Regions from separate parts of the Homo sapiens genome. Here all the other regions are linked to region 7. The links are contacts of gene promoters, found by promoter capture Hi-C in blood cells and fetal thymus (Javierre and others, 2016). All regions are on one chromosome and are shown on one strand. Each heading gives the region's core, a stretch centred on a gene start or on the middle of the fragment in contact. The rest is flanking DNA. Distances are from core to core; before and after follow the strand shown. Region 1 overlaps FMNL2 (formin like 2). Region 2 overlaps FMNL2 (formin like 2). Region 3 overlaps STAM2 (signal transducing adaptor molecule 2). Region 4 overlaps FMNL2 (formin like 2). Region 5 overlaps FMNL2 (formin like 2). Region 6 overlaps FMNL2 (formin like 2). Region 7 holds the start of FMNL2 (formin like 2).

What was found. Contacts are between HindIII fragments. The CHiCAGO score rates a contact against its expected background, and 5 or more counts as called.
Region 1: a fragment that was not itself captured here is called in contact with the fragment with the promoter of FMNL2 in region 7 in 5 of 17 cell types (M1 macrophages, M0 macrophages, M2 macrophages and 2 more); the score reaches 12.2 in M1 macrophages.
Region 2: a fragment that was not itself captured here is called in contact with the fragment with the promoter of FMNL2 in region 7 in 5 of 17 cell types (M0 macrophages, M2 macrophages, M1 macrophages and 2 more); the score reaches 13.2 in M0 macrophages.
Region 3: a fragment that was not itself captured here is called in contact with the fragment with the promoter of FMNL2 in region 7 in 3 of 17 cell types (M1 macrophages, M2 macrophages and M0 macrophages); the score reaches 6.9 in M1 macrophages.
Region 4: a fragment that was not itself captured here is called in contact with the fragment with the promoter of FMNL2 in region 7 in 3 of 17 cell types (M0 macrophages, M2 macrophages and M1 macrophages); the score reaches 7.5 in M0 macrophages.
Region 5: a contact is called between a fragment that was not itself captured here and the fragment with the promoter of FMNL2 in region 7, in 5 of 17 cell types (M2 macrophages, M0 macrophages, M1 macrophages and 2 more). The highest score is 15.8, in M2 macrophages.
Region 6: a fragment that was not itself captured here is called in contact with the fragment with the promoter of FMNL2 in region 7 in 5 of 17 cell types (monocytes, M2 macrophages, M1 macrophages and 2 more); the score reaches 12.3 in monocytes.

Annotation. Positions count from the first base shown.
Region 1 is chr2:152,500,446-152,503,844 of GRCh38, forward strand. All of the region lies in intron 1 of FMNL2 (formin like 2), which reads left to right. Among named protein-coding and RNA genes, the nearest start is that of FMNL2, 170 kb to the left of the region's middle. RefSeq lists an enhancer at 747-1,322. The HindIII fragment of the contact is 5,004 bases long and covers 1-3,399 here.
Region 2 is chr2:152,577,535-152,580,881 of GRCh38, forward strand. FMNL2 (formin like 2) reads left to right here. Exons shown (of 26, transcript NM_052905.4): 8 at 1,354-1,430. Among named protein-coding and RNA genes, the nearest start is that of PRPF40A, 140 kb to the right of the region's middle. The HindIII fragment of the contact is 805 bases long and covers 855-1,659 here.
Region 3 is chr2:152,168,849-152,172,239 of GRCh38, forward strand. All of the region lies in intron 1 of STAM2 (signal transducing adaptor molecule 2), which reads right to left. Among named protein-coding and RNA genes, the nearest start is that of STAM2, 5.2 kb to the right of the region's middle. The HindIII fragment of the contact is 4,391 bases long and covers 1-3,391 here.
Region 4 is chr2:152,517,862-152,520,914 of GRCh38, forward strand. All of the region lies in intron 1 of FMNL2 (formin like 2), which reads left to right. Among named protein-coding and RNA genes, the nearest start is that of FMNL2, 180 kb to the left of the region's middle. The HindIII fragment of the contact is 324 bases long and covers 1,395-1,718 here.
Region 5 is chr2:152,553,866-152,557,323 of GRCh38, forward strand. All of the region lies in intron 4 of FMNL2 (formin like 2), which reads left to right. Among named protein-coding and RNA genes, the nearest start is that of PRPF40A, 160 kb to the right of the region's middle. The HindIII fragment of the contact is 2,121 bases long and covers 1,117-3,237 here.
Region 6 is chr2:152,536,946-152,540,340 of GRCh38, forward strand. The region is part of intron 2 of FMNL2 (formin like 2); the gene reads left to right. Among named protein-coding and RNA genes, the nearest start is that of PRPF40A, 180 kb to the right of the region's middle. The HindIII fragment of the contact is 1,412 bases long and covers 1,052-2,463 here.
Region 7 is chr2:152,333,699-152,336,972 of GRCh38, forward strand. FMNL2 (formin like 2) reads left to right here and starts at 1,476. Exons shown (of 26, transcript NM_052905.4): 1 at 1,476-2,022. The coding sequence starts at 1,906. RefSeq lists silencers at 1,276-1,925, 2,436-2,535. The HindIII fragment of the contact is 3,556 bases long and covers 434-3,274 here.

The sequences.
Region 1 (3,399 bases), core at 474-2,973, 170 kb after region 7:
TTTTTCTTAGAAGCACCTGAGATTCGTTCAGCTAAAGAATCAACAGCTGTCAACCGCAGCAAATAGATCCCCTACCCTCTACCATATCCCAGTATCCTAACAATGCCTTAAAATGAGCATCAAGCCGGGTGCGATGGCTCACGCCTGTAATCCTAGCACTTGGAGGTCGAGGTCGGTGGATCACCTGAGGTCAGGAGTTCTAGACCAGCCTGGCCAACATGGCGAAACCCTGTTTCTACTAAAAATACAAAAATTAGCTGGGTGTGGTGGCGGGTGCCTGTAATTCTAGCTACTCGGGAGACTGAGGCAGGGGAATCACTTGAACCCCAGCGAGGCAGAGGTTGCAGTGAGCCGAGATCACACCACTTCACTCCAGCCTGGGTAAAACAAACAAAAAAACCAGGCATCAAAACTCGGATGTCTACAGGAGTCAGTTAGGTCTCTTAAATTTGTAAAATCTGCCTGGATTTGACACAAAAGGGAGTGGTGGAACCTTGGCAAGCCTGTGAGTTAAGTCCCTGACCGAGGCAGGCGCCACTCGGCTTTAGCCCATACTGGCAAGGCAGGCCGGTGCTGTGAGGGCTTCCAAATTTTCATGAGAAGATGAAAATTTTGATTCTTCTATGAAATCTTTCACATTTTTCATGACGGTTTTAAAAGTTTTACAGGCAGTAAAAACAATTCTTTGTGCCCTTATGCCCTGAAATCAAACCCTGTGGGCCAGTAATTCCCAAATAGAGTCCTCAACCTAATATGCTTTCCTTAAAGCTAAATGTATTTAAGGATTATCTCTTTATTTTGATATTTTTATCCTTGCTATATTGTTGATGTAAGAATGTAATTGCTTTTCTAAAGTGACTCGGGGATAGGGTTAGCTTTTACCTGCATTCAGTTGAACTTGAAGGATGACCTTCCCAAAAGGGAACTCAGAAAATGTATCTGACTCTTCTAAAAGACATGTAACTTAAAAGCATAATTCTTTATGAGCTGATATTGAGAGCTCCCAATGGGTTGATGGAAATGCTAATGAAGGCTCTATTCAATTGTTAAGTTTATCTTCAATGAGCAGCCAGTACAGAGGCTCCAAACCAAACTAGCCAGCTTGCCCTGATGCTGGAAAGCAAAATCCCCCAGGATGTCCACGGTTTTGGGTGAGAGGGTCTCAGGAATATTTACACAGAAGGGAGCAAAGAGCCTGATTGTGTTCCTGGCTTTAACAAGTAAAGATATTCTGTTTCCATCTGTGTAAATTTGCGTGACTTTTTTTTTTTTAATTTTGAGTAATTAATTGCCAAGACTCCATTTAGAAGGAAGACGATGATGAGAATGAATCTTGTGAAAGTCCATACTGTACTGTTTCTCTAATGGGGTCCTGTGAACCCCCTGCGATTTACATATTGGCAGAAGGTCCAGTGTACACTTTGAATGTGATCCAAACGTTCTAGTTCATTTAAATTTCATAAGTTATAGTTTCCGGAAGGAGAAACTGTAACTGCATGGTAGCAAGTATGGAAAGGAACCTAGTTTTCACTGTTATGCCCTGTCATTTAACAGTAGCTTTGAGTAGTTTTTAAATCAAAAACAAGAAAATGTTGATGCCTTAACTTTTTAACCCCTTGTTCTTCGTGCGAGTCTATAGGGTAAGTTCTTCTTGTGGAAAACACTTGGGTTATTTTGGGCGAGGTGGCGCTAACAGAGTTTTGCTTGAGGATGTGCTTATCTGATTCTCTCTTCCCATTCAAATATAGGATTGATTGTTTTCATCCTTGGAGCACCCACTAGGTACAACCCTGTTGGAAACCTTAATGGTGAAAGCAGCGTCTATTCATTGAATTCTTTTTAATGTGTCAGAAACTGTGCTTTGTGAAACACAGGTTATAACATTTATTTTTCACAATGGTCTATGAGAGAAGAATATAAGAGGGATGGTCTCCAAGATAGGAAAAAATACCGCCTTTGGGCCGGGCGTGGTGGCTCATGCCTGTAATTCCAGCACTTTGGGAGGCCAAGGTGGGTGGATCACCTGAGGTCAGGAGTCTGAGACCAGCCTGGCCAAAATGGTGAAACCATGTCTCTACTAAAAATACAAAAATTAGCCAGGTGTGATGGCAGGCATCTGTAGTGTCAGCTACTCAGGAGGCTGAGGCACGAGAATTGCTTGAACCTGGGAGGCAGAGATTGCAGTGAGTCAAGGTCGTGCCACTGCACTCCAGCCTGGGCAACAGAGCAAGACTCCGACTCAAAAAAACCCAGAAAACCCAAAAACAACAAAATAAGTACCATCTTTATTTCATTGTGCGGAGAGTGGGAGAGGAAGGTACAGAAGTATGGTGGGTTTGCGAGTTTAGTAGCAGGAAAGGGAGCGAGTTCTTGTATAAGGGGGTTTATTTCCTTCATGACATACAAGGGGTGAGGCTATATTGAGAGAAGGGGGTAAGGAGAGGGTATGGAGGTTGGAGGTTGGAAGAGATTGTAAATGGTTGACCAGAAGAAGGTAGATGTTCCCTGGGCAGTGTTGAGGGTAGATGTTTTCCGGGCAAGTGATAGTTGGTGCTCTGTGGTTGACTGATCTTCCTGTTGCATGGCACTCTCTGCAGTCTCAGGTGCTTCTGTATCAGGAGGGACAAAATGGTATTAAAGAGGAATTACTCATGACACTCGTTCAAGATGGTAAGGCAGACTTTATTTAGTACCATCACGATAGGCGTAGGGACCACTGCAGTGGGATTTTTGCAGTGAGGGAGAGAGATTGAGCTCAATTCTGAACAGAGCATGGACAAATAGGAATTTATAGCCAAGGAGTGGAGTGGAGGTCAGTGGATGGAAAATTACTAGGAGGAAACATCAGGGCTATAGGAGTGAAGTAGGGGAAGAAAGGGAGAGAATTCTGGTTAAAGTGATCCTGACCTATTATAGGATTCTTGTTGAAGGCAGGCCAGGGTGATCAGATACCATCTGGGGAATGGGAGAGGATGAGGAACCCAATTAATTAGTGGGGGTGATTAGACATAGAGGGTGGGGAATTCTGGATAAACTGACTTAGAGTTCTTGCCAAAACCAGATTTTATAAGGAAGTGTATACACGGATGTAGGAGAATGTAAAGGAGCCTGACTAAAGTTTGGTCAAGCAAAAAATCTATATCACTGGTCAGTGAGTTTGTCTAGGTTTGGGGGTGTGTTGGGGGCTGTGCTAAAAAGACAGCTAGAGGAGCAAGAAACACTGGTGCAAGATCAAGAACATTATTTACCTGGGCCATGGATTCTAAGTTGGGTAAGGAGGGAACTGCAGAAAAGAGTGAGCTGATGGGAGTTCTTTACTAAGGGTCAGACAAATTTGGGGAAGGTATTGCAGTGGGGAAAAAAATTGTTAGGACAAGAGCCAGGATGTTCTCTCACAAC
Region 2 (3,347 bases), core at 7-2,506, 240 kb after region 7:
GAGAAGTAAAGAAGTCCAAAATATGAACTCTAGGGCTCTCTGTTTAAATGTCAGAGAGACGAAGAAAAGCTGGCTAGAGAGCCTGAAAAATAGCCAAGTAGGAGCCAAGTGAAGGACATATTTCAAGGAGAAGGGAGTATTCAGCTCTGTTAGATGCTGCTAAGTCAAGTAAGATGTGGAGTGAGGATTGGCCATTGGCTTCAGCAAAGTGCAGGTCTTTGGTGATCTTGGCAAGAACAGTTCATTGGGATGGTGGGGGTGAAATGCTTGATTGGAGTGGTTTCAAGAATGAGCAGGAAGTGAGGATTTATACTGAGTGTCTGGAGGAGTTTTGCTGTAAAGGATAGCAGAGAAATGAGAGGCAGTGGCTGAACACAGGTTGTGGTATCAAGAGAGGTTTTTATTGTTACTTAAGATAATTTGCATTTTTTATGCTAATGGCAATGAGTCTATGGAGAGGGAAAAATAAGGGGGAAGGGAGGAATTTCTGGAACATATGATGTTCGTGAGCAGATGCGAGGGAATGGGATGGAGGAAGGACTCATGGGAGGGGTTGGCCTTAGTTTGGAGCACAGAAGAGTTCCTCTTTAATAGGAGGTGAGGAGGTAAGCCACAAATCTGTGTGGATAGATTGATGTGGTATAGGAACTTCTGGATGTTTTCTCTGATGAGCTGAGAGTGAGTTTTGAGGAGAAAGAATATAGTTGACCCTTGAATTTTGTGGGGTGTGAGGGGTACTGATCCCTGGTGTAGTCAAAAATCTGTATATAACTGGAGACCTCACCAGTAGCATAAAGTCTGTTAACACACATTTTGTATGTTATATCTATTGTATACTGTGGAGTCACCCTGGAAGCTTAAAAACTCAGGTGCCAGGTCCCTGTAATTGAGATTCGGAGTAAATGTTTTGTTTAGTCTTCCAGGGGAGTTTAAGGAGCGGCCAAGGTTAATAATCACTGGGCTAGAGCCTTTTTATCATTTTAATAAAGAGAAACATGTAGTTCATTTGTAAAGAATGGGAAGATAATCTTTTGATAATAGCATCATTGCCGATTTTTTTTTTTTTTTTTTTGAGAGATGTGGGTCTTGTTGTCCTGGACTCAAGCTGTACCCCCCGCCTCAGCCTCCTGAGTAGCTGGGACTGGAGGCACAAATCATTGCATCTGGCATTCTTGAAATTTTTAATAGAGAAATATGCTCTGACAGTGATATACTAGAGACATAAGTGCATTTATAATGGTGTAAGTTTCATTAGGTAGATACTTCGGGTTTTTGGTTTTAAATCAATACTGACAGTTCCCTAACTTGTCTCCCAATGCTTTGTGTTTCTTTTTTTTTCCATGTTAATTTTAGTATGGTTTCAACATGGTCATGTCTCATCCACACGCTGTCAATGAGATTGCACTAAGCCTGAACAACAAGAATCCCAGGTAAGCTGCTTTTGTAGTACGCAAGTCTAAATCTATCTAGAGAAAACAGAGGGCTAGTCAACACTTAACCAAGTTTGACTTTGGAAACTTTCAAGTGTTAATCTCTGAAATAAGATTGGCTATAAACTCTTTGGCTGTGTAAGAATTTTTCCTTTTAGCCAAGTTACATTCTTAGATGGGCCAGAGTTGAGCAACTGGTGACAATTCTAGCCCTTCACTGTTCTCCTCAAGCTTTTGTTCTTTTGAGGCCTGGTTTCCAGCATCCTTGCTGCTAAATTTGGAGAGGATCAGGTTGCCAGGACTCGGGGGCCAGGAGAGTCTTGATAAAGATTTACGTATATCAGTTATTGCTGGAAGCTAGCTAAAACCACCATCCTTCGTCTACACTTCGCTTGATAACTTTACATATGTAGCTTTAATTACTGAACGAAAATAGAAAAATAATTGTAGTGGCCAGCCGCAGTGGCTCATGCCTGTAATCTCAGCACTTTGGGAGGCCGAGGCAGGCAGATCACCTGAGGTCAGGAGTTGCGACCAGCCTGGCTAACATGGTGAAACCCCATCTCTACTAAAAATACAAAAAATTAGCCAGACATGGTGGCACATGCCTGTAATCCCAGCTACTCAGGAGGCTGAGGCAGGAGAATGGCTTGAACCCAGGAAGTGGAGGTTGCAGTGAGCCGAGATCGCACCGCTGCACTCCGGCCTGGGTGACAGGGCAAGACTCTGTCTCAAAAAATAAAGAAAGAAAGAAATAGAAAAATAAAATTGTATATGCAGATTTCCTTTCATATTCACCACCTTGTAAAGGCTAGCAGCAGATATAATTCACATCACACGTTAGTCGTAAAAGCCAGTCTTCATCAATTGTAGTTATTTTAATGTGCTTTCCATTTTGGTGAAGTATTCTGTACTTCAAATGTGCAATTCCTTTTCATCCAATACCTCTCTGTAGACAAAATATCTGAAAACTGTTAATTCAAAAATCTGTTTATAAATTAGCCATTTCTGATTTGGAAAATGCAACACGAACTATCAAGTCCTCTTTACTGAATATTATTCTTTCAAACTTCCCCTGATTAAACCTTTTGCGACTGTGCGATTCCTTCCTTCGTTTACTAGAGTCCTAAGTAGCCATGCTTCTGTGTCTCTGCCTTCTACTACAGGGAAGACATTATTTTTTAAAAGACAATTGACATTGTGGAGTATCAGAACAGTTTTTGTTTAGAAGTTGGTGAAAGCTGTTATTCCAGAAAAAAAATGAAATACTTAAGTGGTCTTATGATTGAAGAAACAATGCTGTTTCTTTCTTGACATTGAATTTGAAAACTTAGAGTGTATCTCCATGTTCTCCTTCCAAAAATATTTCAGATTGAGTTTTATTTTCTTGAGTCAAAGAAAATATTCTTGTGTTAGTAAAGCTAGTAAAGCTGTAATCCAGCTCCTTCCAGTTGTCCTGCGTAGGAAGAAGAAAGGACAGAAACTTGTATTTTCGTGGGAGATTTATGGATCTGTCCCTACATGAGCAGATTTGAAATGTAGAACATGAGTTTCAGTTGATTTTGAACTTTTTTTTTTGCAAATGTTCTCTCACTGTCTCTAAAACCAGAGCAAATACTTAATCAATAGTTTGTTTTTCAGCATATTCCCATTCCCTTTGTTTTTAGCGTACCAGTAAACATTTTTCATCTGTATTGTACTGAGTCACCTGATGATAGGTCTAAGAGATTATTCTTCTCAGAACTAGTTTTCATTAGTGAGTGATTTGTCTTTTTGGTAAGTATACCTTCCAAATTTGCCATCTTAGACAAATCACATATGTAGTAGTCAGTAAAGGTTTAAAAATGTACTTTGATTAAACTGTACCTTAGTAAAATTTTTTAAAAATGTAAGGGCAAATGTTTTATTCTCATGTAT
Region 3 (3,391 bases), core at 709-3,208, 160 kb before region 7:
AGACAATTGATTATTGTCTATTGTCAACTGGTTATCCAATTCAATTCCTCCGCAGACCTTATACAAAAATTAATTCCTGGTGGATCAAAGACCTAAATGTGAAAATCAAAAGTTTAGTAAAACTTGCAGAAGAAAATATGAAAATATCTGTATAACCTCAGGGTGGAGAAGGGTTTCTTTTCTTTACTACAGGTGTGAGCCACCACACTCAGCCCTGAAGCCTTTCTTAAGAAAAATAAAATTAAGGGAGAATGACAAATATCACTAAGTGAAAACCCACATTTTCTTTACAATAAAAGACAGCAGAAACAAACAGAACTAGAATACAGATTTGTAACATACATACCCAACTAAAGATTAGTAAGAAATGTATCTGGAACTCTAAAAATCAATTTTGTTTTATTTTTTGGTGTTGGTTTTTGGTTTCGTTTTTTTGTTTTGTTCGGGAGACAGGATCTGGCTCTGTCACCCAGGCTGGAGTGCAGTGATGCAATCATGGCTCACTGCAGCCTCAACCTCCCTAGCTCAAGCCATCCTCCCACCTCCATCTCCCGAGTAGCTCGGACTACAGGTGCGCGCCACCATGCTCAGCTAATTTTTGTATTTTTTGTAGAGATGGGGTTTCATCATGTTGCCCTGACTGATCTCGAACTCCTGAGATCAAGCAATCCACCAAGTGTTTGGATTGCAGGTGTGAGTCACTGCACCCTGCCATCAATTTTTAAAAAGTAACCCAACAGAATAATAAAAGTAATGAGCAGGCAATTTATAGAAAAAGAAAACAGAATGATGAAGAAACATATGAAAAAATGCTCATCTTCACTGGCAATGAAGTAGAAATAGAAAATGAAATGAAAACAATGTCTTACTTCATATTCATCAGATAGGCATAAATTAGAAAATCTGACAATGCTCAGCATTAGTGAGGATGTGGAACAACAGGAATTTCACTGCTGACAGGAGGGAAATCAACAAACACTTGGAAGGGCAACTTTGCAAGAGCTACACTTTTTTTTTTTTTTTGAGATGGAGTCTCACTCTGTTGCCCCAGCTGGAGTGCAGTGGCACAATCTCCGCCTCCCAGGTTCAAGTGATTCTTCTACCTCAGCCTCCCGAGTAGCTGAGATGACAGGCATTCACCACCACACTCAGCTAAGTTTTGTATTTTCAGTAGAGACACGTTTCATCATGTTGGCCAGGCTGGTCTCAAACTCCTGACCTCAGAAGATTTGTCCACCTCAGCCTCCCAAAGTGCTGGGATTACAGGCATGAGCCACCACACCAGGCCAAGAGCTACACTTCTACTGAAGAATTCCCCTTCAAGACGACAACCTTTAAGAATTTTGCACTCCACTGGGCACAGTGGCTCATATCTGTAATCCCAGCACTTTGGGAGGCCAAGACGGGCGGATCACGAGGTCAGGAGTTCGAGACCAGCCTGGCCAACATGTGAAACCCCGTCTCTACTAAAAATACAAAAAAAAATTACCTGGGCATGGTAGCAGGCGTCTGTAATCCCAGCTACTTGGGAGGCTGAGGCAGGAAAATCATTTGAACCTGGGAGATGGAGGTTGCAGCGAGCTGAGATCGCGCCACTGCACTCCAGCCTGGGTGACAGGGCAAGACTCCGTCTCAAAAAAAAAAAAAAAAGAATCTTGCACCCATAAACACAAGAAAACATAGATAAAAACTTTCAATACAGAGCTGTCTGTAGGTGCAAGAAATTGAAAACAAAGTCATGTTCGTCAATAGGACAACAGATAATGCATATTCATATAGTAGTATAGTATCACGCAGCCATTAAAATTTATAACCTAGAGCTACAAACATCAACATGAATAACTCTCACGAAGAAATGCTGAATGGGCCAGGCACGGTGGCTCACGCCTGTAATCCCAGCACTTTGGGAGGCCAAGGCAGGCAGATCACCTAAGGTCAGGAGTTCGAAACTGGCATGGCCAACATGGCGAAATCCCATCTCTGCTAAAAAATGCAAAATTAGCCGAGCATGGTGGTGCGCACCTGTAACCCCAGCTACTCGGGAGGCTGAGGCACAAGAATTGCTTGAACCTGGGAAGCAGAGGTTGCAGTGAGCTGAGATTACACCACTGCACTCCAGCCTGGGCGACAGAGCAAGACTCCGTCTCAAAAAAGAAGAAATGCTGGATGACAAAAGTTGCAGAATGACAAAAAGACACCATTTTTAAGAAGTTTAAAAACATCCAAACAATATATAGTATATTTGTAAGTGTAGTATTATACTATTAAAGAGAATTTCTATCTATTTATAGAGTGTTTAACTCGGAGAAAGGAGGAAGAATGGGATCAGGTAGCTGCTAAAAATACTAAAGTATTTCACTGCATCTTGAATGTTCCTTTCTTAAAAAAAAAGAATCAAGTATATCAAAATATTAGCACTTGACATAATTGCCTGGCAGGAATGGGAGTTCATATTTTCTATTTTATGCTGAAAATATTTCATAGTTTAAAAAGCTACAAAATATATTAGAAAAAAAACTGGCTGTTAAGTCTACTATTCTTATTCAAAACCAAAAAACTTTTTAAAAAAATTTTTACTTTTACAAAGATTTTAACTTATTGTACAAAGAGTGGCCTAGTTAAGTAAATGTTATAAATTTGTGTGTATGTTATGAATTTATATTATTCTTATGCTATCAATATCTATTTTTATATTGGGATTTCTTATAAAATTTCACTGGAGAAAAGGACTGCATGACTGCATTTCACTGGAGAAAGTCCCAAGCTACTTCCTGGTCAACTTCTTCTAACACAGCAAAAGTCAGAAACACAGCAATACACACATTAAAATGTCACTTGGAAATGTATTCTCTTAAAAGCTAACAATTCAAACCACTGCGTCCACAGAGTTTTGTAGAGGTAGAATTTGAGCTCAGCTTTGTGGGACACAAGCGTATCTTTAAAGGAAATACCAAGGTTGAAAAGAGCAAACATTTAGCAATGAATGGTAAATAGCACAGAGGCAGAAAACTGGCAAGAAAGATTGCCTGGCTTGAGTAAAGGGAAAAAAGATATGCAAACAAGAACCGGAGTTAAGGCTTAGAACAGACAAGTCATGACTTGGAAATCAATGAATAAGGAAATGACATCTTCTCTGTTAACACTAACCACTGTGGCCCCGTCCCCCATGTTTCACTTTCCCCTTGGAATTCTACAAGAATGGCTACTCCAACCAGGCTCTACCTCAAGATCCCTGTACCCCTCTAACACTTGAGGCCCAGCTGGGGAGAAGAGGTGGGACCTAAGGATATTTTCTTTTTTCCCCTCAGAACACATCAAAGAAATCTTATTAAACAAAACAAAAAAATGAATCTAGATAAAATGTTTAAAGAGTTCTAACACTACCAAATCT
Region 4 (3,053 bases), core at 307-2,806, 180 kb after region 7:
ATGTTGGATGGAACAATGGATGAAAAGAATGAAAGGAGAGCCCTATGTCACAGATGTCACTAAGAGTGGGTGAGGTAGAGTTGTCACCGTGTTAGGAAGACTCGGAAATTGATTGATATTTTCAGCCAAATAGATGAGCAGTCCATTTTTATAAAGGCAGCAAAGGGACCTGGAGATAGAGCCAATATTTTCCTCACACAGTAACTTGGACTCATGAATTACCTGCTCAAACATTTAGCTTGGACTCCAGAGTCTTGCCCTGAACAGCACAAGAGGAATGAGTTCACTCGAAAGAAGTTTAAAGGCAGTTATTACCAGCTAATCACAACATCCCTGAACTTTAACCAGACCTCTGTAGAGTGTCTGATTTTAAATAGAACTGCTTCCTCATGGTCCTTATGGAATTATTAAGCTGTACAATGTATGTCTGAGTAGCTCAGAGGCTTGGCTCATGGAAGGGGTTATTTTAGATGCTTGGTGAATGATTACCCAGTGGAGCTTTAGTTTGGATGTATTGATGTTGCACTGCTACTTCTGACAATAACTAATCATGCTCAAAAAGACTTCTTAAGTCTCTTCTTGTTCAGAGATTCAGACCTTTCTTTTGACCTCCAGAATCATGTATCTACCTGCCCACTTGAGTGCTCTCTTGGTTATCTCATAGCTATCTCAGGCCTAAACAGGGTCATTTATAAATCTTATTCTTCACCAACTCCTCCAGATTTATTTTGCCTTTTGTTACGTGCCCCTCTTATTAACTGTACCCCATTCACTTAGTGACTCAAGCTGGAAACAAGGTACAAATCCTCCCCAGCCCTTAAGTCTAACCAGTCAGTTTCACTTAATATTTCTGACATTTGTCCACCTTTCTTCATTCAACGTGCCATCGACCCCATCTAAGCTGCCATCATTCACTTGAACTGCTTAGTCCTGGCCTCCTACTGGCTCTCTGCTTTTGCTGTTTCTAATCTGTTCTCCTCATAGCACCTATTGTTATCTTTGAAAAACAACGTCATTATGTTATTTATCTGCTTAAAAGCCTTCAATGGCTTCCCGTGGCACTTCAGATAAAATATATTGACCCTGGTCTGCATGTCTAGGCATGATATGGCTTTGACTCACATTTCCAACTTCATCTTTTTCTCATTCCTTCTCTTTTACTTTCTCTCTGGCTGTTCTGACTTTTTTCAGCTCCTTAAATGTGGAAAGCTAATTCCTGCCTTTGAGGCTTCCCTTGTTCACTGTGCCCAGTGTGCTTTCGTCCGCCCTCTGCCTGGCCAATCCTTCTCATTTATTGGGACTCATTTGTTACTTTTTCCTGAGAGGTTTTTCCAGACTGTCTAATCTAAGACTACCCTCTGATAACCTTTCTCAAGCCTTACCAGAGTTTAAAAAGCTTTGTTTGTTTCATATGTGTCTCCCCACCATAACACAGTGCTCTCTGGGCATCGCGTCTGTTTGGATTCCCACCGTGCCACCCAGCATGTTGCACAGGGCTTGTACAGGGGCAGTGCTCCATAAACATTTGTTGAACGAAAGACTCTTTAATCAAAATAAGAGTTAGTCTGGAAGGGGCATCTTGCCTTTCTCTTTGCAGAAAACGACAGAGCCTGTGTGTAATTCCTGTGGCGATGTTTGCCAAGTGCTTCCACGGGAATGTCTAGTAGAGTACTAATAGAAGGTCATAAGCTATTGCCGTTTTGCTCTCCTGCAAAAAAAGCTTGGTGGCATATTCAGAATTTATCCTTGGGAGCCTAACAGACTAAGTTTAGGTCCTGTCTTTGTTCCTGTAAAGCTGTGCAACCTTGAGCAAGTTAACCAAATTCTCCCGGGTCTATTTCCCTATGTTAAATGGAGAAGATTATGTCTATCCCACATGCTTATTATGAGTATTAACTGAGATTACATATGCAAAGTGTTGAATGGAGTACTTGGCACCTTGTAGGAGTTCAGGCATTCTTTTTCTTATTCCCTTTATATCTCGAGATTAGTGAGGACTCAAGAGGAAAAGAACTCATTTAATTTATAATCTTATTGTTCTTACTTAATGCATAATTATAGCTGGGGTGCTAACATGAAGGTCAACACCAGTTTAAGAGGAAAACCTCCTTCTCTGGAGTGCAAATAAGCAATGATGGACTGACCATTTACCAGTAAATAACATTAGACTTCCTCAGAAAGATACACATGAAATTCTCCTTTGCCTTATCCCAGGAGTTTTTTTTTAACATTGTCAAATTGTAATAACTAATAATTACAAATAGACTTTTTCCATTGTAGTTCAAGTAGATATTCCATGAAGACAGGCCATATGAAAACATTTTCCCATATTAGATGTTTCTATATCTAAGAAGCTTTGGCAGTACCATTGAAAACTCTTTATAAAGTCCAAAGCTCTTCAAAGTAATTGTCAGCTTTGAGGGGGGGTGATTAAAATATTAAATATTTTAGGCCAGGCATGGTGGCTCACGCCTGTAATCCCCGCACTTTGGGAGGCCGAGGCGGGCGGATCATCCAGGGGTCAGGAGTTCAAGACCAGCCTGGCCAACATGGTGAAACCCCGTCTCTATTAAGAATACAAAAATTAGCCAGACATGGTGGCAAGCTCCTGTAATCCCAGCTACTTAGGAGGCTGAGGCAGGACAATTGCTTGAACCCAGGAAGCGGAGGTTGCAGTGAGCCGAGATCGTGCTATTGTACTACAGCCTGGGCAACAGGAGTGAAACCCCATCTCAAAAAAAAAAAAAAATTAAATTAAATATTTTAAAGACAGGTTATTGTAAAATCTGATGGATTAGACTCAAATAGGTGGCAGATATACTTAAGGCATACCAATCTAGATGTTAGATTGAGTTTAAGGGAAAATGCTTGGTTTAATTTATCATAATCAGTGGTTGATTTTCTATCATTAAGTCAGGACAGCATACTCACCTTTGCCTCTGTTAAACTTGTTTCACCCTATAACACAAGACAATAACCATGACCAGGGGAATTGTTTCTCCCTAAGCCAAGTCCTTCAGAGAGCTAGGAGCTTGAGTATTAAAAGTTCAAGA
Region 5 (3,458 bases), core at 927-3,426, 220 kb after region 7:
GTTAATAGTTGGCAGCTAGATTCTCCTGAGTCAACATTCAATTTGTCGTGATCTGTTTTGATTGATGTATATGTAGAAAATTGGGTCTTATACACACTTAGAGATGAGTTTTTTAAATGGTCTTTTCAGATAATTGGGATATTCTTTTTTTAGTAGTACCCCCAAAATTGAACGGCTAGTAACTAATTCTTACAGATAGCTATAATGTAGAGTCTGAAATCATATCAGTGAACTTTTTGTGCTCTGTTATATTAAAATCCATTGGCCAGGTGCTGTGGCCTGCAGTCCCAGCAACTTTGGAAGGCCAAGGTGGGCAGGATGGCTTGAGCCTGGGAGTTTGAGACCAGCCTGGGTAACATGGTGAACCCCTGTCTCTATAAAAAATACAAAAATTAACCAGGTGTGGTGGCATGATCCTGGAGTCCCAGCTACTCAGGAGGCTGAGGTAGGAGGATCACTTGAGCCCAGGAGGTTGAGGCTACAGTAAGCCATGATTGTGCCACTGCACTTCAGCCTCAGCAACAAAGTAAGACCCTGTCTCAAAAAATCCTTTGTGCTGTCTTACACTTTGATTGGGTCTTTTTATCCATACATGAACTTGTGACATGATTTGTTAACATCATGTTGGTCATTTGGAAGATCAGAATAACTCAGTAAAATCATGTTTCTCCACTGTTGAAGCATATCCCTTTACAATGTTTTTAAAAATCACATTTGTTAATAACCACCAGTCTGATTAGAATATATGTTAAGTATTGAGAAGCTGTCAAACTGACGGTGGTGAATACAGGTTTTCCAGAATTCTAGTTTTTGTTTGAAAGCTCAAAGTTGGTCATCAGCAACAAATACTGTGTTGTCCTTGAAAGGATGGGCTCACTTCATATTTGAGTAAATGTCTGCCACATACCCCAAACTGAATCACCATAGTTTGTCAGTTATTTTTACAAGTAAATTGACATTCCATGAAAAAATGGCTAGTTCAGCTCGCAACTCAAACAATTTCACAGGTGCTTTTCCTTGAGACAACTGTGCTACTTGAGCAGGTAGCAGAAGTACTTTATGTGAGCTTCCTGTTTTGTCACACTGAAAATGAAAAAGATGTGTACTAAATGAGTAAGCTTTAATAAAATCAATATTTTTTATTGCTTATCTAAGGGCGTTCTTAAGTGAAGCTGGCCTTTTCCCCCTCCTGAGTGCACGGAGTGACAAATACAATAAATAAGTGTCTTCTTTGGTTGCAGCAGTTTTATACAGTATTTCTTTGGCATTGTAAGTGTCAGTGTCAACAGATTGAAAACAACTAATGTCCTAATATTTTTGTGAAAACAGTTTTACCTTCACAGGCGCCCTGAGAGGGTTTCAGGGACCCCTAGTGGTATATGGGCTATACTTTGAGAATCAGTTTGCAACACTGCCTAACAGAGTAGATCTGATGACCAGTGTTGAATCCACACAGTGCTTCTTTCTCTTGCTTTTCATGATTTTTCATCAACTTCAGTTCCCAACATATGTCTGTAGGACCTCTCTCTAGAGGAGGCTGGCAAAAGGAATTAACTGCTTTTTCCTTTCTGTTGTGCAACTTTGGGCTACTTGGCTTGATCTTAGAAATTGAAAGCCAGGAACATCTCTTAAGACCTATATGAGGAGAAATAAGGTTCTAAGATTTGGGGAGACAGAACAAAGATTTGATATTAAGCTGTGACCAGCCTACAATAAAACAGTGACTGTTGGCATTGGCACTTACATCTCTTCCTTGCACCCAATTTCTTCCAGAGCTATTTGTCATTGTCCCTGTCTTTTCCAGCTCCTAAGCATCTGATTTAGAATTTGCCTAAATTCAGATGTACAGCATATGGTAATTACATTGAATCCGTGAGGCACTCAGGAAGTTATGCGTTCTGTCAGAGTCAGAAATAATTCAACTTTCCAAAACCTATAATCACCCAATTTGAAACTGTTTGCCTATTGGCAACATATTAAAAAGTGTGTGTAGCATGCACAGAGGTGAAATGGAACTAATTTGCTATGGGAACCCTGAATATATGATATAGTCCTTGCATGATCATTTACATAAATCTGCAAAATGAGGCATCCATATTCTTTGAATGCCTTTAGATTCCAGTTACTGCTTTGAAAGTTGCCCGTTTTTATCTTTACCTGTTTTCTTTCCTTACTCTTATATTTCTGTAGAAGTTCACTTTCAACTCCAATTGAAAATGGCCAGTTCTCTCCAATACAGAAAGTTCCAAGTCAAGAAGGGGTAGGGACTGAGATAATAGTTAGAAAAATGGGGGCTCTTTTTTCATGTCATCCATACCCTTATTGCTGAAATGACTTTGCTAAGCTAACCTGATACCATTTGATAAAGTGGGGAAGGTAGCCAGCCCTGAAAGACTGATCTCATTCTTTCCTAAAGCAGCTGGGGGTGTCAGGACTAGATCAAATCCCAGGGAGGATCTTGTAGCTTTGAAAAAGATGTTAACTGCATGAAATTAAATCAGGGGTAAAACATGTCACACTTTAGCTGACCTTTTAGGAGGTAGGCAGCAGGCTGTTACCTTTTACTCAGAAAATTGTCTTTGAGGCCCTTTCACTCAAAGTCAGGAAGTGGTGATGGGGGCATGGATAAGGACTCTGAAGTGAAGTAAGAGGAGCCAATGAGTATTCTTTATCCCTGCATTAAAACGTATGCATATTAGCATGTTAAGCGAATTGTAACTCTGGCTGTACTTGGCTATTTCCTACCTTAAAAAAATTTAGTTTTTCTTCTGTAGGTCACTTGCCTCTTGTCCAATTGGTGGCTGAACTTTCCAAGTGAGATGGAGGTGCCTGCCAGTAGTTGACACAAGGGCAGGCACTGAGTGCATTCTGAATGGTCTGCACTCTACAGAGGCTGCATCTGGAAAATCAACCAGAAGAAACGACAATGGCTGTTTCTCTTAGCTCCTAAATTAGTGTGTTCTTATGGGCCACTGAGAATATGTACAACTGAGACTGCCCTGAAAAATCTGCCCCCCTCCCCCCGCCGTGATTATTTTTCATATTAAAAAGACACCCACCACCGAGGGCCAGTTTAAATTGTACAATCACAGCCCATAGGCCACCAATGGAAAAGCCTAAGCAAGGCTAAGGGGCTTGAATTTAAAGATTTTCTAATCATCAGATTTTGATATTGAGTTCCAGACTTTAAGTCTCCAGCCAGTTACAAAAAAGAAAAAATTCTTTTTACTATTTCTAAGCTTCTAATTACTAGTATTTAAACGTGATCAGTGTCTCCTGAGACCTAGCACCACAGAAAGTACTTAAAATAAATAAAAAATAAGTATCTAGTAGGTGCTGTGAGATTGTGTATGTGGCTGTTTTGAAATGAAACTTCAGCCTCCACCAGTAGCCAGCCCTGTTAGTTTTGTCTAGGTCTCATAACAAAGCCACTTTGTGAGGCCTACCAGGTGGTATTT
Region 6 (3,395 bases), core at 508-3,007, 200 kb after region 7:
GATAGAGAGGATGTAAAAGATCAGAAATGCTAAGCTAGATGAGTGGAATGTCCAAATTTCAAACCTTTACACAGAAAGGCTTTCAATGACAAACTCTATTAGATTTAAGTGGAGAAAGAGGAGGAGGACATGTAGGGAGAGGACGAACCAAAGAAACAGTTCAGCTTGTTAGAAAGAACTTAAGTCTGCCTGCCTGTGTCTAGTAGAAAAGGCTATGTTGTAGCATAGCTGATGAATTCTGTTTGCTGTGACTTACCTAATTAATTTACTACACCCCTGTCACAGCCCGTCACTTAGTTCTTTTCACAATGGTCTAGTTTCCCACCTTGGGTTGCAGTAGACTTGGTCATTAAGTGGAGTCCAATAAGTGTTTTGTTTTTTCCTTGTCTGCAAGGCAGGTATGTGTATAGGCAGCCTAACGTTCCAGGCAACCAGTAGGGAAAGAGGAAGCTAACATACGCCTTAGGGGATTGGGTTAATGAGGAAACGTATGGTTATGAAAGGCATTAGACGGCTTTAGATCTACGAGAGACACAGCTGCGGCTCATCAGCAAATGTTCTTTGGCTCTGACGTGAGCTTGACTAACTTATGTCTACTGAACCTGCTGGGGTACATCCTGTAGAGTGTGCTTATAGTCTCTTTGTTTACTTTTACATTTAAAAGTTACCCTTAATTTATGAAAGAAGTGACTTGTATGTGACATTTTTAAAAAGTTTAATTCTTTGAACATTGTTGAAGATCAACTGTGTGCCAAGTATTCTTTTACATACTGGGACTCAATGAAGAATAGAACATGTTTCCACCCTTTAAAAAATGTTTATACTATTAAATTCAAGATGAGCATGCTTATTATAGTGTAGTAAAATGAACAAGCATCAGAAAAAGTCAGAAAACTGTGTTTGAACAACAGAAACATTGGGAAAATACATCAGAGACCTTACACATACACACACACACACACAGTATATGATTTCAGGTAAGTCATTTAATCTTTAAGCCTCAGTTCCCTCATCTGCAAAATGGAGATAATATCTACTTGCCAGATATAGAAGCTTGAGTGAGCTAAGAGGTCTAAAGAATGTGATAAACTGTGAAGTATCACTGAAAGATAAGTTAAAAATCAGAGAAACAAAAAGTACTGCCCCACATGAAAAGTTAATTGTATTTGAAATATCTCACTAAAAGATATTTGAAGAATCATCTACATGATGGATTGCACGTAGCTGCTAAAGGCAAGGAGTTACGAATTACATTACTTCTAAATTAACCAGTTCAGGGAAGAGGAAGAGGAGGATTAAAATTCATTATCTGGAATATTTTATATGAGGTTTTTTTTTTTTGTTTGTTTGTTTTTTGAGATGGAGACTCTGTCGCCCAGACTGGACTGCAGTGGCATGATCTCAGTTCACTGCAAGCCCCACCTCCTGGGTTCAAGTAATCCTCCTGTCTCAGCCTCCCAAGTAGCTGGGATTACAGGCACGCGCCACCACGCCTGACTAATTTTTGTATTTTTAGTAGAGGTGGGGTTTCACCACGTTGGCCAGGCTGGTCTCAATCTCCTGACCACAGGTGATCCACCTGCCTCAGCCTCCCAAAGTGCTGGGATTACAGGCGTGAGCCACTGCACCCAGCTGTATTTTTATGAGTTCTTAAATAAAACTCATATAAAACTTTCATGGGAACCATGAAAGAAGGAGAGAGGGAGAGGGAGAAGAGAAAAGAAAACTCGGCCTACATCCAGGGACCCAAATAAAAGTGTTATGGAGGAAGAATACAAAGCCCCAACTGTTTTTGTAAAACTTGGGGTTGCCTGTCTAATATCTAAAGGAACCACTGTTTGAGTTATAAATTCAGCACCTGATTTGCCAAACCTTTTCTCTCTGTTTCAATGTGGCCAATTTGAACAACAGAAACATTGGGAAAATACATAAGAAAATTTCAGCACCTTGCCAAACACATTTATTTTGAAGGACTTCAGATGGATTATGGGCATCCTATTTATTTGAATTAATATATTTTTCCCTCTAAATATTAGAATTTTAGATATTGTATTAAAAGTCGAAACTGCTTTGGTTGGCAGTCTTCCATTACCCACACTTTTAAAACTGCTTCATATCCCATGTTATTTTCAGGACCTCGTTGCCTGCTTGCTTGACATCAATGATATAAGTACCTTTATTAAGTTACCAACTTGAGTTGCACTGTGTAGAAATGTTATTCTTTAGTCATGATGAGCTATCAAAATGAATTGAAAAGGCACCTCCAAAGTCTTGGTGATCTTGCTCCTTTTGATAGTTACCACCCCTCCATTGAGATTCCCAGCTTTTCTGTTCATTTTGATCCTCTTGCAAAAAGCACTCAAAATTGGCAGCTTCCATGACTCCATCTTCTAGAGGGTGGGTGGAATCAAGAGTGAACTTCAGAACCTTCTTTTTCTGTCTTCCTTCTCCCCATTTGCCACAAGCTTTTTCACGGGTTCCATGGCAGCAGTGGAGGTAGAAAGAGGAGATGGGCAGACTATGCCAAGGCAAATGGCCCCACCTGAGTTTTCTTAGAAGTGGATGCAATGTGGACCAACTGTGTTTTAAAGCATGAGGCTTCCTTATTTTCTCTTTCTTAATACATCAGTAAGCTGCTCAAACAAATGAAGAATATGTGGAATACAACGACAAATGCTAAATAAGCATATTTGAAAAAGTGTGAGTTTATTACATGTAGACCTTGTTCATAATTTCAAGTCCTAAGGAAATATAGTCCAGTCAACAGGACCAGCAAATGTATGTATTTGAGTAAGCCTTCTGAGTCGCCACAGTCCCAAATAGGAAATGAAAAAAAGCTGCCTTTACTGACTGTCAAAGATAGGGCTCACTAAATGAGTGAATGCTACTGCGTTACATGTGCTACTCCACCAAATTTTATTATTGTAAAAATAAAATTGAGCCCAGGAGTTCAATACCAGCCTGGGCAACATGGTGAGACCTTGTCTTTAGAAAATTAGCTGGGCGTGGTTGCCTGCACCTATAGATCCAACTTCTTAGGAGGTGGAATTAGGAGGATTGCTTGAACCTGGGAAGTCGAGGCTGCAGTGAGCTGTGATTGTGCCACTGCATTCCAGCCTGGGTGACAGAGTGAGACTCTCTCAAAAAAATTTTTTTTGAATAATTGGAATTATATTATTTAAAAGGATAATATTTATTTATATTCTGATATGTGTTTGGCATCAGCTGTTGTCATACATGAGGTTGGAAATAATGACTGGCTTCTAGATAGCTCATCAGTTCATTTTTCTGAGCTTCTTGTGATTATTTTAGCCCTCAGCTGGACTACTGCTAAATCCCCATGGCAATAGGATCCCCTCTGATTCCTTGGTGAGGTGATGGTGATTTAAAAAAAG
Region 7 (3,274 bases), core at 226-2,725:
ATTAACTTTGATACAACACTGCTTTAGAAATACAGGTTACAGTTATTCAGAATTTTAAGTTGAATTTATTTATACTGTCTCCATTCTTTAAAGACTAGAAGTGGTTTAATAGAACATACATGATGTATTTGTGTGTATTTGTGTCATATGCTTTTGGAAAAAGTCACTTGTCAATTCCACAAATAGTTCTTGGGCGTCTACTATGTTTAAAGTATCTTGAAGTTTATAAAGATGAATGAAATGTCCTTGATTGAATCTTGGTGTACTACCTTGTCCAGAAACACTTGCTATTTACTAAAAGGATAACAACCTTACCTGCATATCAAAATCACCTGGGGAGCTTGTTGAAAATACACCGGCCCAGGCTTCGGCTCTCAGCTTAGGGAGATTCTGATAATACGCAGAGCCCAAGGTGTGTGTAGTTTTAACAAAAAGCTTCCCAAGCGAATCTGATACACATCTAGGATTAAGAAACACTGCTTTAAACTAAGAAAGGACTAACTGCAGAAGTTCAGCCACAAGTCAACCAGATGTATGCCCTTAACATTCACATGAGCAGTTGGCTAAAGTCTCTTATAAGGCTATTTCTATTTCCGAGGTTTCAGAACGGGTAGTTATAGTCTGAAATACACCCCAGAGGACAGAGTCAGGTCCAATCTTTTCTGTAAGACACCTTGCTCAAGACTGCTGTGAAGGAATAAGAGAGCTGCAGCCAAAGATCATCCCAAAGTCTCCCAGAACACTCTATCATTATATCCATCTCACATGAAATATGGGTGTGTACATTTTTTCCTTCACTAGATTGGCAAGTATTCCAGCGCAGGGCAAATCTCTTTTTTCTCCCACCAAGGAACACAATATCCCATACATAATAGGTGTTTGACAGGTTTTTTTTTTAAATTGAATTGAATCCTTACCTAGCTCCTAGGGTCTGACTATATATACCCATAAATTATACATCTGTTTATAAAACATTTCAATCACACCAAAGAACATATATATGGAAGAAAGAACGATAAACAAGCACCCATGGACCCACCCCCCCGTTTATGAAACAGAACTTTGCCAGTGCTTTCGAAGTTCCTTACTGAACTAGATCTTTTAAAAACAGCAACGATTTTCTGAATTTTAATCAGAAGGCATGCATTCCTTCATTCATTGATTCGATTCCGTCATGGTCAGACCCGCCTACCAAGTGTCAACATGATATACACGATGTAAGTATTCCACTGTTGGGGTGAGGAGGGTCAAAAGTGACAATATGCTATCTCCAGAGACTACGGATCGCCTTTGCTGCAAATGGTCCCAACCCGGCCTGGCGCTCTAGAGCAGGCGTGGTTTCTGCGCGCGGACACTTTGGAGAGAAACTACGCGTCCCGGCAGTCCGCGGGGCGAGTGGGCGGAGCCGGGCCGGGGGCGGGGGCCGGGCGCCGGGCGAGAGGTGGCATTGTGTAGGGGAGCGCGGAGCTGCATTTGTCTGCTCCAGGTGCTAGCCAGGCAGGCGCAGCCGTGGCCGGCTAGGGCTGGAAGTGTCAGCGGCGGCCGCGGGCCCGGCAGAAGGCCGAGTAGGAGGGACCACGCGCCGGGGGCCGCGATCTCTGGCAGGGGGCGGTGTGCCAGCGGAGCACCATGCACATAGGCGCCCAGCGCCCCAACTACCCCTCCCGAGGAAAAGAGGCCGGGGCCGCGCTGGGGCGGCGGAGAGCATGAGGGAGGCCGGGGGGCGGCTCGGCTTGGAGCGCTGCTAGGGAGCGGTGCGCGCCGCACACCCGCCTGGGCGCGGCGGAGGGCGGGGAGCCGGGCAGGTCGCGCCTGCGGGCGGCAGCCGACCGCCGGGAGCTGTTCTGATTTCCGACGCGCACGCTAGGGGCCCGGAGCAGCCCCCGGCCCCGGCGCGCCGCCGACATGGGCAACGCAGGGAGCATGGATTCGCAGCAGACCGATTTCAGGGCGCACAACGTGCCTTTGAAGCTGCCGATGCCAGAGCCAGGTGAACTGGAGGAGCGATTTGCCATCGTGCTGGTAAGTGCGCGGCGGCGGTCGGGCGCGGGGACCCGGGGCCCCGGGCCGGGCGGCGCAGCTGACCCCCGCCCCTCCCCTTCACCCCGTGCCGGGAGCGAGCCTCCATTCCCGAGGGGGAGGCTCCCGCTTTCCCCTTTGTGGCCCCCCAGCACTCCTCTTCACCCCCCTGGCAGTCCCCCGCGCTCAGTCTCTCGGGGTCCCGGGATGGGGATGGGGGCTCAGGGCCGGCTGCCCAACCAGCCTCGAACCCATTGTCTGGCTGGAGAGGCACCTCACGGCGCGTGTGCCCGGGAGGTGCGGCGTGGGCGTGAAGAGAAGGTGGCGCGGGCTGGGAGGAGGAGGTGGCGAGCCGCTTAGGCTTTTTTTTTAAAAAAAACAAAACAAAACAAAACAAAACAAAACACCCTGAGCCCCTGCGGACCATCCCTCGGGCGGCCAGCCCGGGACCTGCGAAGTCCCCGGCAGATGGGGCGCATGTGGCCGGCCGCGGGCGCCGCGCCGGGCGGTGAGCGGAGGCGAACTTGGAGGGCTCACGTCGCGGCTTGGCCAAGGGGAGCTTCCCCGAAAGGGAAAGCGGAGACCCACAGCAGTGCGGCGCCCCGGCCCTTGGCGAGGAGCAGGGGCATCTGAAACCCAGGCCGGGGAGAACCTCAGCGCGTTCCCTCTAGACTTAAATCTTAAACCACAAAAATGTGGAGTTTTGCGGGGACGTGTTGCGAGCTGTCCTGACTGCACGGGCGACCCCTCCCCTCCTCTTGCACGCCCAGCCAGGTCCCCCGCTCCCTCCTGCATTCCGCTTCTCCCAGCTTTCCAGCTCCTCAAATCCAGGACTCTGAAAACTCCCCTCTTTCTCCCTTTCCTGCTGGGACAGTGTCTGGGCCCCTCCCAGCCGAGGCTTGTGCTGTGAGCTGCAGAGGGTGTGGCGGCTTGCCCCAGCCAGGATCTGGACTGCTGTTGGTCCCCCAGACTACCAGTTTTAGTGTCCCAGCCTCTTCTAAGGGATGTTGGGAGGGACACACACAGGCGAGATTGGGCTCATTCCTACTCCTGACACTTGGACACTTCTCTTTTCCTAGTTGGTTACCTCTAAACTCCACAAGACTAGGCAGCAAGGGAAACTCGTGATCCGGGCAGCCAACGATTGTGCCTGCCTGCGGGTTTTCTTTTCTTCTTTTGTTTTCATGAAAACTTAGAACTTTGGCAGAGGACTCGAGTTCTAGATCAAAAATCGGTTTTCTGAGGTGTGCTCAGC